Regions from separate parts of the Homo sapiens genome. Here region 2 is linked to region 1. The links are contacts of gene promoters, found by promoter capture Hi-C in blood cells and fetal thymus (Javierre and others, 2016). All regions are on one chromosome and are shown on one strand. Each heading gives the region's core, a stretch centred on a gene start or on the middle of the fragment in contact. The rest is flanking DNA. Distances are from core to core; before and after follow the strand shown. Region 1 holds the start of BIRC6 (baculoviral IAP repeat containing 6). Region 2 overlaps BIRC6 (baculoviral IAP repeat containing 6).

Region 1 (6,019 bases), core at 2,605-5,104:
GGCATCCTGGGGAAGGGATATATAAACAAATAAACAAAGTACCTCCCCACAAGGAGCTTGAAATATGAGACAGACCTCATATATTTACAAAAAGCTAAATAAAATGGAATTTAAACTTAAATAGTTCAAGACGGTTGAAAAAATACCACAAAATACTAACCTGCCAGATTACTAAAATGGACACTAATAGGACCATATGTGCTTAGGGCTTCAGTCATTTCTGGCTAAAGGGATCAGGAAGTTAAGATACGCTCTAGGTCTTGAAAATGACTAAGACTTAGCTAAATGACTGGAGCGAATTGGTGCATTCCAAGAAAGAACAAAACTACTGTAGTTAGGAAAAAGAATTAAATGGACCATTTCACAAAACTTATAAATAAGGAGACAAGACTAGAGAGACTAGTAAAAGCCAGATCACGCAGCTCAGAGCTTCAAAAATCTTCACTCTTAAATACTGACAGGGAGCAAATACTTACCCAGCCTGTGTATATACTGATAGCTCTTAATCCAGTTAAACTGTATTTATAAACATTTTATATCAGATACAGATAATATAAAGACATATACTAGTAGTCATAGTTAAAAATTCACTGTCTTTGCCACTCAATACATATACATACAAGTCCTGTTCCCATCCTTCAACTGCAAATCTACAGGCAACCCATAACCCTATAAACTGAACCCCAGGCGTCCATAAGACCTATTACTGTATCACCTAGTCTTTATCCCCTCAGACACAGATGTCTTTCCTCTGTGGTAGAAAAGAAAGTGGCCCATTGCCCATAAACGGGAAAGAGGGATTATGTTAGGACCATGATCGCTACTGGCATCTTCTCTCTACTCTATTTATAGGGCTGTCACCCTCTATTAATCATTAAAAGCAAACTTACTAAATACCTGCAGATTCTAAGTAAAACATAAAATGCAGCATTCCCTCCTCAATCATCTGAACTGGGGCAAATAGGACCCTATACAACCTCTGATAATTATTATTAATAACAAACTTCTGGCCAGGTGGGACAGCTCATGCCTGTAATACCAGCACTTTGGGAGGCTGAGGTGGGAGGATCATTTGAGGCCGGAAGTTCAAGACCAGCCTGGGCAACACAGCAAAACCCCATCTCTACAAATACGAATAAATTTTACAAATAATAATAAATTTCACTTCTCATATATGAAAATGTTTCAGAATGCATCCATTGTTAACTTCCAAATTTTTTCTGTAATCCTTCATTCCGTTCACTATAAACCCTTCTACATATTTTAATTCACATACTCAATCTTCATGCATGGGGACCTGCAATTGTATCCAATCCCGAACTCTTCTAATCAACAGATGCCCCAACAAAACCTGTTATCCCAAATCAATGCTACATTTTACTTATCTACCTACACCTTCATGTTATACATCTAAAACCCTCCTCTTTAGTAATCTACCACTAAAGTGAATATTGTCTTTCCTTCCATGTACAGGCACATAAATATATGTCCAATTTCCCCAACCAACAAATCCTGACACACATTATTATTCTCAAACATGGCCTCCAGACATAAAAAGCACACCATAAAATTCCTCTTTCTATCCAAAACACTTGAATACTTTTGTTAATGACTTTCTTTAGAAATCCTAGTACATATACCACTTATTCCAAGTTAAAAATCACAAAAATACTACATCCTCAAGATAGAAACATATACTAGAAAGTGTAGACATATATGAAAAGGATAAAATCAAATTAAAGATAACGTTTATGAAGAGGGAGGATTGGAGAAATGCAGTCCAGGAGAGATTCAGCTGAGATTTTAATCCTATTTGTAAAGTTTTATTTCTTAACCTGAGTTGGGGATGCATGGTGTTCACTGTAATTACTCTTCATACCTTTTCATACTTGAAATACTTTTAAATGACTTTTAAAAAGAAAGACATCCAATTACCAATGAGCATCTCCCTCTTACACACAGTGAGAAGCCATTATGTCCAAGTTGCAGTAACTGTTCACTGCTACATCTGGGCCACCCCATCATTTACCTAAGCCAAGAAAAGAAAAAATTACAAACCTACCTCCCAAAACTTTCTCTTAGATATGTTCCAAGTTTATATCCTGAAACTATACATAATCCAATTCTTTCACAACTCTCACATCAACAATAATTAACATGTCTAATTTCACGTTTGCATCCCTAAATTGCCATTTACTCTTACAAATGCCTTATTACTCACATAGTAAACTTTTCCTTGTTCGTCTACGTTAAAATACAAGTGAATTGGTTGACCACATAACTACTTCCACTTGGCTAAACGCAGACAGTTGTATACATTACATCTCTATGCAGGAGTCCGATTCACTCATACACTAACTTTTCAATCTAAACCTACAACATCCAAATTAAGCCACCCATCATTTAACCACAAATGAAATGTCATCTCCGCCAAATCTAACTCAGCCAGGGCCATTCCAAAACCACTCCAGTCCGTCCACTGAGCATACACCTCACGCATCTGAAAGTCCCGTCCCTGGACCAAGGTTTACGCCACCCAGAAGTGCTCTCCTCCAATGGTGAGACTCAGACACACCTTCAAATCCTAATTTTCGGCTCGCTGTGGGAAAACAAGTAGAGACAGCCTGAAGTTACAAACCCAAAGGAATCTATTTCATACACCACAGGTCCTGACTTTCTCGTCACTGGGGCGTAGAAGTTGGAAGCCCCGAGCAAGGGGACCAGGTCTAGTCGTCTTCGGCGTCCGCAGAGTCCTACAGTCGTCGACCAAGCAGTTCAGGCAGCTGGCCCGCCTACTTCCCTCCCCACCCCCACCACGACCCACCCCACCCCCACCCCACCCCCACCCCCACGCTGGGCGCACAGCCCGCGGTCTGTCCCCCGCACTGCGGGACCTGAGAACAGCAGACTGCCGGCTCCTCTCCCACAAGGGAGGGCTTGGTTGCCGGCTCAGACGCTCCCCGCCCCTCGCCTCCGGCCACCAGCCTCTCCGCCCGGGGTCAACCCTTCCAGCCTTTCGCTCTCATCTAACCGGACGCAGGACCGACAGCCTCTCCAGGGCCTACCCGGGCCTCGCTTCCTCCGGTGCCAAGCTCCAAGGTCTCCTCACCTCTCGCGGAGGACCAAGCCAGACCGGACGCTCCAGGCCCGAAAGGCAACTCCCCTCCCACCACTCCCTGACTCGCCGGTCTTTCCTCCCAACTGCAGCCGCTGAAAAAGCCAAGTCCTAAGGTCCCCCTCCATCAGCTTCCGGGCCTCCCTTCACGGCTGGGCCCGAACCCCCAGCCCTGCCCTCTCGCCATCTCGCTTCCCCGAGTCGCGAGGCCGAGCCCCGGGGCTGGACGGCTTCTTTCCCCGGCTTCGCGCCCGCCCGGCGTGCGGAAGACTCACCACTGAGCGCGGAGGCCTGCAGTGTGGCCCCCGAGGTGCCGTCGATGACTTTGATGGTCCCGCGGCTAGTGACGGCCAGGATGGCGTTGAGCGCAGGGTGGTAGGACAGGCTGTGCAGCCCGTCGGCGTCGCAGTGCATGCAGCCGTCCCGCAGCACCAGCCACTCTGAGACCCCGGCCGCCCCCGCCCCCGCCGCCGAGGAGCAGCCGGGGCCCGAGGCCGCCGCAGCCGCAGCCGCCATCTTCCGGCCTGCGCTCAGCACAATCACACTGGGAAGCGGCTCAGTGACAGTCCCGGGAGGTGCAGCACCACCACCAGTCACCATCCGGGGCCAGGGGGCAAGCCGAGCGCGTTAGCCGGAAGTGAAGTCAGGCGCCCGCACGCACGCGGAACGTCGATCGCCCGGCCGGAGGGGCCAAACTCGGAGGGAGGCTGACGGGAGAGGGGGAGAAGCAGGGAGGGAGGCGGGGCCCGGGGCGCGGGCTGGAGGCCGGCGGGTGGAGCATGCGCGGGAGGGCTCGCGCGTGCCACGCGCCGCGGGTCTGGCCAGTTCCGCGTCCGCAGCGTCCCAGTTTCTTCCTGTGAGCCTGGGGAGTGGCGGCTGCCGAGTCCGCCCCGCTCCTCGCGGGGGCAGGGGGAGGGGTTGGCCTCCGTGCATTTCCGCTAGGTGGGGACCCCCGCCCTTGCGACCTGTCCGGTACGCCCGGAGGCCTTTTGCAGCGGTTCCAGCTGCGCCTTGACCGTTCCCGGTACGCACGGTGCAGCTGTTCGGCCGTGGCCGGAAGCGGACCTCTGGGTCTCGGTCACGGCTCTGGTGTGAGAATAAACAATCAGAAGCCTCTCGTTTGGATTGGAAGGAACCGAGCGACCTTCCCAAACCTGTACCTTTTACCACGCCTGCCCTCCCCATTCCCAAGGCTTTCTGTTGAACAGAAGTACCAGATACGAGGTGCTGGAAGCGCATAGTTAAGCTTAGTTTCTCTATCCACATTCCAAACAACCCGAGTTACCGGAATTAATAGGAGTGTGGGTCTGTGTGAGTGTGTGGTGGGGTGTGTTGGAGGTCTAGAAAGGACTAATCAATTTACTAATCATCCCCCCTTGGAGAATTTTTTTAAAACTTTTTATTTTGAAATAGATTACAGTTGAAAATATACTACAGACCTCTGTGGTCTTTCTCTCCAAAAGCCATAACCCCTATCTAACTATGAGAAAACCATTTGACAAACCCAAACTGTAGGACATTATTTTTATAAAATACCTAAACACTACTCAAAGATAGTACAGAGAGATCCAATTTACTCTTTACCCAGTTTCCCCCAATGGTTGCATATTACATAATTCTAGTACAATCTCAAAAGGAGGGATTTGATAGTTGTATGATGTGTGTATAGTTCAATGTCATTTTATCACATGTAGACCTACGCACCATAGTCAAGATGCAGAGTTGTATGTTCTATATGTTTTGTGATCATTAGGTTATTTTGGAAAGAACTAGTTTTCCTTAAAAACCTAATCAAAGATCTGTTGTGAGGATTAAGAATCATTTGTAAAATGTGTAGAAGAGCATCTGACAAGTATATACTACGTGCTCAATAAAAATTATAAAAGTTAATTGCCCTCTCACATTCATGCGAACTTCCTTCAGGAAATCTTCATGGATTACCTGAACTACATCTTAAACTATTAGCCATCAGGCTACATCTGAAACACTTAGAGATTTGACTGTATTCCTCTCTTCTTGGGGGTCCCTAAAATACACTGAAGTTCCTGGGCCTGCCAGAGAGTGACATTCCTTACTCATCTGTGGTTCTTTTTTTTTTTTTTTTTTGGCTTTTTTGTTTGTTTTTGTTTGTTTATTGAGACGGAGTCTCACTCCGTCGCCCAGGCTGGAGTGCAGTGGCGTGATCTCAGCTCACTACAACTTCTGCCTCTTGGATTCAAGCAATTCTCGGCCTCAGCCTCCTGAATAGCTGGGATTACAGGCACCTGCCACCACGCCTGGCTAATTTTTTTTTTTTTTTTTTTTTGTATTTTTAGTAGAGATGGGGTTTCACCATCTTGGCCAGGTTGGTATTGAACTCCTGATCTCGTGATCCACCTGCCTCGGCCTCCCAAAGTGCTGGGATTACAGGTGTGAGCCCCCGCGCCCGGCCACTCAGGCCACTCACCTGTAAGTCTGGGAACAATCAGGCCAGTTTTTCAAACGAAGACTTTATTGGCTCCATAAAGTCAACCATAGCTCCTTAATGCCATCTGGTCATGTTTGAAAATATGACATTCCAGTCAAAACCTGGTTAATACAACCAGTGCCTCCAATTATGTCTTGTTACAGGAGAACACATTTTTATAGAAATTATGCAAATAACTATATTGCCATAAAAATAGGAATACTTGGCCGGGTGCGGTGACTCATACCTGTAATCCTAGCACTTTGACTAGCCTGGCCAACATAGTGAAAGCCCATCTCTACTAAAAATAGAAAAAAATGAGCCGGGCCTGGTGGCGGGCACCTGTAGTCCCAGCTACTAGGGAGGCAGAGGCAGGAGAATCACTTGAACCCTGAAGGCGGAGGTTGCAGTGAGCAGAGATCGTGCCACTGCACTCCAGCCTGGGCGACAGAGCGACA
Region 2 (6,423 bases), core at 2,869-5,368, 46 kb before region 1:
TATATCAGGAAATGCAATCAGACTATATTAAGTAGAAGAGTTAGGATTTAAATTCTGACATAGTAAAACTATTTTGAAACATACTATTAGCTTTTCCTACAAAATAACATTAAAATACGAAGTATATTATTTTGCCCTAGTATCTTAAAAGCTAGTAAGGCAGCATTTACTTGATGTTTTAATGTCTATAATTTCACACATTAAAATGTAGTTCTTTATTCACCTACATGAATAAAGAGCTTTAAACACTACTTTTAGTTAACAGAATACATTATACAAATAAAAACATTTAATTACCTGACATATGTGACAAAACTTTAACGTAACTATCCACTGTAATTCCTTTGGCTCAAATAGGTACCATTTAAATTTTAAATATGGAACACTATGTACATACTACTAATTTGAGATCTCTGACACACAATATTTCAGTCTTCTGTGTATACTAGCAAAAATTTAGAGTTAGCATTAACTAAGAAATTCAGAATTAAGTGGTAGTTAGCTGTATGCACAACTGTGTAAAGAATTTTTTAAATACATTATCTAATACTTTTTACATACCTGTCACAGAATCTGATCTGGAATGCTCTTCACTGTCTGAATCCTCCAGTAAATCATCACTTAAATCAAAAAACAAAGTAAACAATTTGAATTTCAAAAAAAGTATACATCATATGAGAAAGCAAAGAAAAAAGAACAGTTGGTTTTGTGGGTTTTTTTGAGACAGGGTCTCAGTCTGTCATCCAGGCTGGAGTACAGTGGCAGGAACACAGCTCACTGCAGCCCTGACCTCCTCCTGGCCTCAACCAATCCTCCTGCCTCAGCCTCCCGTGTAGGTGGGACCACAGGCACACGCCACCATGCCCAGCTACTTTTTTCTTTTAATTTTTGCAGAGACGGGGTCTCACCATGTTGCCCAGGCTGGTCTTGAACCCTTGGGCTTAAGCAATCTTCCCACCTCTACCTCTCAAAGTCCTGGGATTATACGCATGAGCCACTATGCCTGGCCTGAAAGTACAGTGTTAAAATCACTACTACACATCTCAACCATATAATTAAAATAGGCTTAAATGATATATAAAGAGTAGTTTGATATCATAACTGATTAACAACACTGACAAAAATCTTCTTAAATCATTAAATAAATGCCTAACTGAAATAGGGTATGGAAACCTCCAAGAATCCATAATAACATTTGTAGGAATTTGAAGACTACTGTGTGACTAAGGACAGTTTGGGCAAACAAAAATATAAAAGACAGCAGCAACTAATAAAATCAAGCACCAGCTTGCAGTAGTAAAGCATTAAGAACTATTCTATTACTGAATTCAGGACAGCCTAAAACCAAACATAATAGTTGTATAAGCAAGTGTGTATGTTTGTGTACTCACATGTACATGCAATTTTATTTTTGTTCTGTATTTTGTTTTGGAGAGGCTAAGAACTCCTTTACATATAGGAAAACTATGACAACTCAGAAGATGGGGGTCATCAAGACAAGACAAAGTCTTGTCTCTATCTCCTGACCTTGTGATCCTCCCGCCTCGGTCTCCCAAAGTGCTGGGATTACAAACATAAGCCACCGCACCTGGCCTACGATGTTATTTTATACAGAATATGAAGTGGTATTCCGCACTGAAAATGCTTAAGGATATTACTGCACTCCAAGGCAATGTTTGAAATATTTTGCGGCGGCTGGGGGAAATTCACTTATATATTTTTGAAAAAGTTTCTCTGTTTTAGTTTTTTCAGGTGATAACAGTTGCCCATAAACCAATTTAATGCTGTAATTTACAAAAGCAAAAAATGCAAAAAAAGTTTAAAATCAGCTGCTAATTCATTAGCCTAATTGGCTGGTTTCAGAGAAACAGAGTAAGTGTAAAAATGAATCCCAAGAAGAAATATTAATAATTGGGAATTATCAAGAATGAAGAAGTCCAAACCAAGAAAACAGGTTTTAAGTATAGAATGGCTGCCCATTAAAGAAAAATAAATAACCAAGTATTAACCTGCTGTACTAAGATGAACAATAAAATTAAGTAGTAGTATGTTTTAAAGGAATTCAGGTGTCTTGATATTTCAAAGACAGTTGCCAGATAAAAGCCTTAAATTAGCAAAGAATGTTTTATTCTGAAAGTTCTCAAAAATATAATCAGGCAACAGGCACAGTGACTCACACCTGTAATCCCAGCACTTTGGGAGGACAAGGAGGGAGGACTGCTTGAGCCCAGGAATTCGAGACCAGCCTGGGCAACACAGTGAGACCCCATCTCCACAAAAAAATAAAAAATTAGCTGGGCATGGTGGTACATGCCTTTAGTCCCAGCTACTTAGAAGGCTGAGGTAGAAGGATGACTTGAGCCCAGGAGGTAAAGGGTGCAGTGAGCCGTGAGCCCGGGTGACAGAGCAAGACCTTGTTTCAAGAGAAAAAAAAAAATTATATATATATATTTGTAAAATCACATTCTTTTAAAATATTTTGTGACAAAAACATTTTATGGCTAAGGCCAGATGCAGTGGCTCACACCTATAATCCCAGCACTTTTGGAGGCTGAAGCAGGCACATCACGTGAGGCCCGGAGTTTGAGACCAGCCTGGCCAACATGGTGAAACCCGTCTCTACTAAAAATACAAAATTTACCCAGGCATGGTGGCACGGGTCAGTCCCAGCTACTCAGGAGACTGAGGCACAAGAATCACTTGAACCTGGGAGGCAGAGATTGCAGTGAACCAGGATCGCACCACTGCACTCCAGCATGGGCGACAGAGCAAGACTCTCTCAAAAAAAAAGAAAAAAAATTATATGAATAAAATAACTAAATTGTACACTTACATGAATTGTATGGTTTGAAAATTACACTTCAATAAAACTTTTTAAAAAATCACATGCGGCTGGGCGTGGTGCTCACGCCTGTAATCCCAGCACTCTGGGAGGCCAAGGCAGGTGGATCATCTGAGGTCCGGAGTTCGAGAACAGCCTGGCCAACATGGAGAAACCCTTTCTCTACTAAAAATACAAAAAATTAGCCAGGAGGGGTCGTGGGCACCTGTAGTCCCAGCTACTCAAGGAGGCTAAGGCAGAAAAATCATTTGAACCTGGGAGGCAGAGGTTGCTGTGAGCCAAGATTGCGCCACTGCACTCTAACCTGGGCGACAGGGTGAGACTCTGTCTCCAAAAAAAAAAAAAAAACACACACACATTTTAAAAAGAAACTAGAATACATATAAATGTTACCATAATCCCATAGTGTGATTATGACTACTCTATATTTCATCAATTTCCACTCCTGCATTTTCCCATTTTCCTGCAATAAGCATGCACTATTTATATAATAGGCACTGTATTTACTAAAGCCTTCTACATTTTGCAAAACCTTTTACAAAGCAATAAACATGCAAAATAAATATTATGGTTAAAGTAAAAATGTTTAGTTAAGATTATATGTGTTTCTGAAAAACAGACATACTAATATTGTAACAGTACCTTGGTTTACAGCAATCCCATAAACAATTTCATTTACATTCAAGGAATTTTTACCAACTTGACCTGATATACAAATGACAAGTGAATCATCTAGAAGAAATCTTAATTCATTAAAATTAAATGTATTAGCATATCTTCTTCCTTAATTCAGAAGACAAATATAGTCTTCTAAGAAAAAATTGTCAAAAACAATTCCTTAGTCCTTCAATGTAAATAAGAAATAAAAACAAATTTTACAAAAACTATTCTAAGCAAACTATATTGCTAATTACTTTAAACTTCTTGGATAAGCTTAGATTTTTCCAATTAATGTATTATTCTTCAAGCTAATGAAACCCACATAGTATATTTTATAACCAAACATATTGGATCTTGTGTCACATAAAGTGAGAGGTAGTGTGGCTCATTATATTCACTATCAATTCCAACAGGACTGCTCCTACTTCTTGGGGAGGGGAAGTGAAGAGAGGGGGCTTAAGGTTAGGGATGAAGTTTCACCTCTTCAGCTTCCTCCTACCACATCAACTTAATGTTTTTGTATGATTTGTTTGAGACTTTCTTCAGAGAAAATTGACCTTCGACCCTAGATTGTGAATTTCTTAAAAGCAAGTAGAGATTACCTCAACTCAAGCACATTACCCCATATAATGTTGAGAAGTATTTCCACTAATAATACAGAATACATGTTTATCTAAAATGCAGATTTTACCTAGGAGGGTGTGACTATATGTGTATGGGTGTATGTAATCCTAGAAGTATATTTTGATTCCATTTTTAATCCCCAAATTACAAAACTTCAAGACAAAGTTCAAATTAAAGTAAGTGCCTAGAAGGACATATAAATTTCATTATCTTCTATTACTTTTCCACTAACTTCTAAGAAATCACAGAAATTAAGCATGCTTAATATCTAGTCCTATTGGCAAAATATGGTCAGAAACTCAGACAACAGTTAAGCTGCTTTCCCATTAAGCTTTCACAGAGATTTATATTAATAGAACAACCACAAGGCTTTAATCAACATGTTATTACCAAGAGGAACTAGACAGAAGTAACACATATATTGTAAATTTTCCACTAATTCCATTAATGAAATAATTTCCATTAATAAAACTTTACATTATTCCTTAATGAAAGGACATCCCACCAAAGGGGTTGTGAAGTAAAATGATAAATCACTGACTACAGAGTAACACCCATCACATGTCAGTAACATAAGGAGCCCCTGGAAGTGAAATGGCAGATATTCTCAGTCTATCAAGACATCTGATCACAGTTAAATAGCTCCATTTCACATGGCTGCCTACACAATCTTCTTCCCCTCCACCTACAGAATCTTACTAGCCCAGTTCAGTCAAAACCACAGTGGTTCTTAGGAAACAAGTGGGTGAAAGAGGGTGATACTTTGACTCTCCCACCCCACCACAAAAATCAGGAATCTCTCAGAGAAGTTGAGTGAAGGAGAATCCAGAACAGCAATTTTACCAAAATATTTCTATAGCAATAATTATGGTATCTCAACTCACTGCTGACTACTGGTACACTGTTTTAAACAATTAGATCCTCTTGCCTCACCTCAGGTCATCCCATTATTATTATTCATTAGCACTGCCATAATTTGAGGTGCTAATGAAAAAACGGAAACTGAAATCATCTAGTTCGAATGCTCTATGAAAAGATTTAGCAGAAGGTGAAACTACAATAGAATTTCATTTCATTATTTAGACTTTCCAATGTTGACTTTTCATCATCTATTGTTCAATGTGGCAATTATTTCCAATTGACATAGATTGTGATAGAAAGTTAAGCATATTTTATAAACTACGGTGTTTCTGAATGAAGATTTTTCTTCAAGAATCACAGATTTCAGATTTCTAACCAAACATTTACTCTCTGATCTCTTAACTGCGTAACTTTTTTTTCCTCCTCTTTAATTATTAGAACTATGAGAATATAAAATTTAGGAAAACATGTAACATCTATTAAATACTACTAAAACAAACTCACATACCTATCTCCTTCCAATTTTGGTATATCTGAGCAACTAGAGGAGTCCTCCAGCCACGCCAAAGTTGGTCTCCTTGAATCAACTCCTGAGCTTGGGTCTCCTGATAGAATAAGCTGTTGTACAATTGCTGGATCATAGGCATTAATTTCAAACTTTAAGTGCACCTAAACAAATGAAAAGCCTAAGTTTACAACTGATCTTTTTTCAATTACTAATTTGTTACTTCAAAATTCAAACATACCTTCATAAGTTTGGAAACATCCCATATGCAGATCTTTCCTCGTTTAGTTGCAGCAGCTAGAAAATGAGGGCAGCTCCCCGACCCAAAGCAAGATATTCTGTCAGTTCCATCCGTACAAGGAAACTGTGCAGGACTTGTTGCAAGAGTGACTGACAATGGCACATTCTGTGTGTGCTCACCTTTCACAAATGGGCAGTTTGGGGAATGTCTTTCGTGTTCAGACCTTTGCATAGATTTAGAAAGGAAAAGTTTACTAAAAATAAAGCAATTCAGTTTGTACATTAAAACAGAACTCCAGGATCATCATCTTTTTTTAACTGAACTTAAAGTATTCATCATTAAAGACTTAATATAACCAAATCATTCAGTTTTATGAAGATCACTCTAACATGTTCAACCGTTTACAAATTCACACATTCAATATTCCAAACATTCAACAATAGCAGTTGTTACTCACTTTAACTGATTATAAAGTCAATCTCAGAAAAAACTGAAAAACCAATACAATGCTATATTACATACTACAAAATTGTTTAAACTCCTGTTATTTCCTCACACTGGTTTCCTACAGCTTTGAATGATTAACTACTATGTTTCAATTTAAAATTCTCCATATCTATCAGGGGCCACAACTATAAATGATATACAGCTGAAACTCGATAAATGCCACTCATAACACAAAAAGTTATT

What was found. The method cuts DNA at HindIII sites, captures the fragments that hold promoters and counts their contacts. A CHiCAGO score of 5 or more calls a contact.
Region 2: a contact is called between a fragment that was not itself captured here and the fragment with the promoter of BIRC6 in region 1, in 1 of 17 cell types (M2 macrophages). The highest score is 6.9, in M2 macrophages.

What each region holds. Positions count from the first base shown.
Region 1 is chr2:32,354,858-32,360,876 of GRCh38, reverse strand. It overlaps BIRC6 (baculoviral IAP repeat containing 6), which reads right to left and starts at 3,854. Exons shown (of 74, transcript NM_016252.4): 1 at 3,391-3,854. The coding sequence starts at 3,715. RefSeq lists enhancers at 2,644-3,156, 3,671-4,183 and silencers at 3,408-3,637, 3,798-4,167. The HindIII fragment of the contact is 6,861 bases long and covers 1-4,363 here.
Region 2 is chr2:32,400,696-32,407,118 of GRCh38, reverse strand. It overlaps BIRC6 (baculoviral IAP repeat containing 6), which reads right to left. Exons shown (of 74, transcript NM_016252.4): 7 at 5,734-5,956; 8 at 5,496-5,656; 9 at 562-620. Among named protein-coding and RNA genes, the nearest start is that of BIRC6, 47 kb to the right of the region's middle. The HindIII fragment of the contact is 682 bases long and covers 3,778-4,459 here.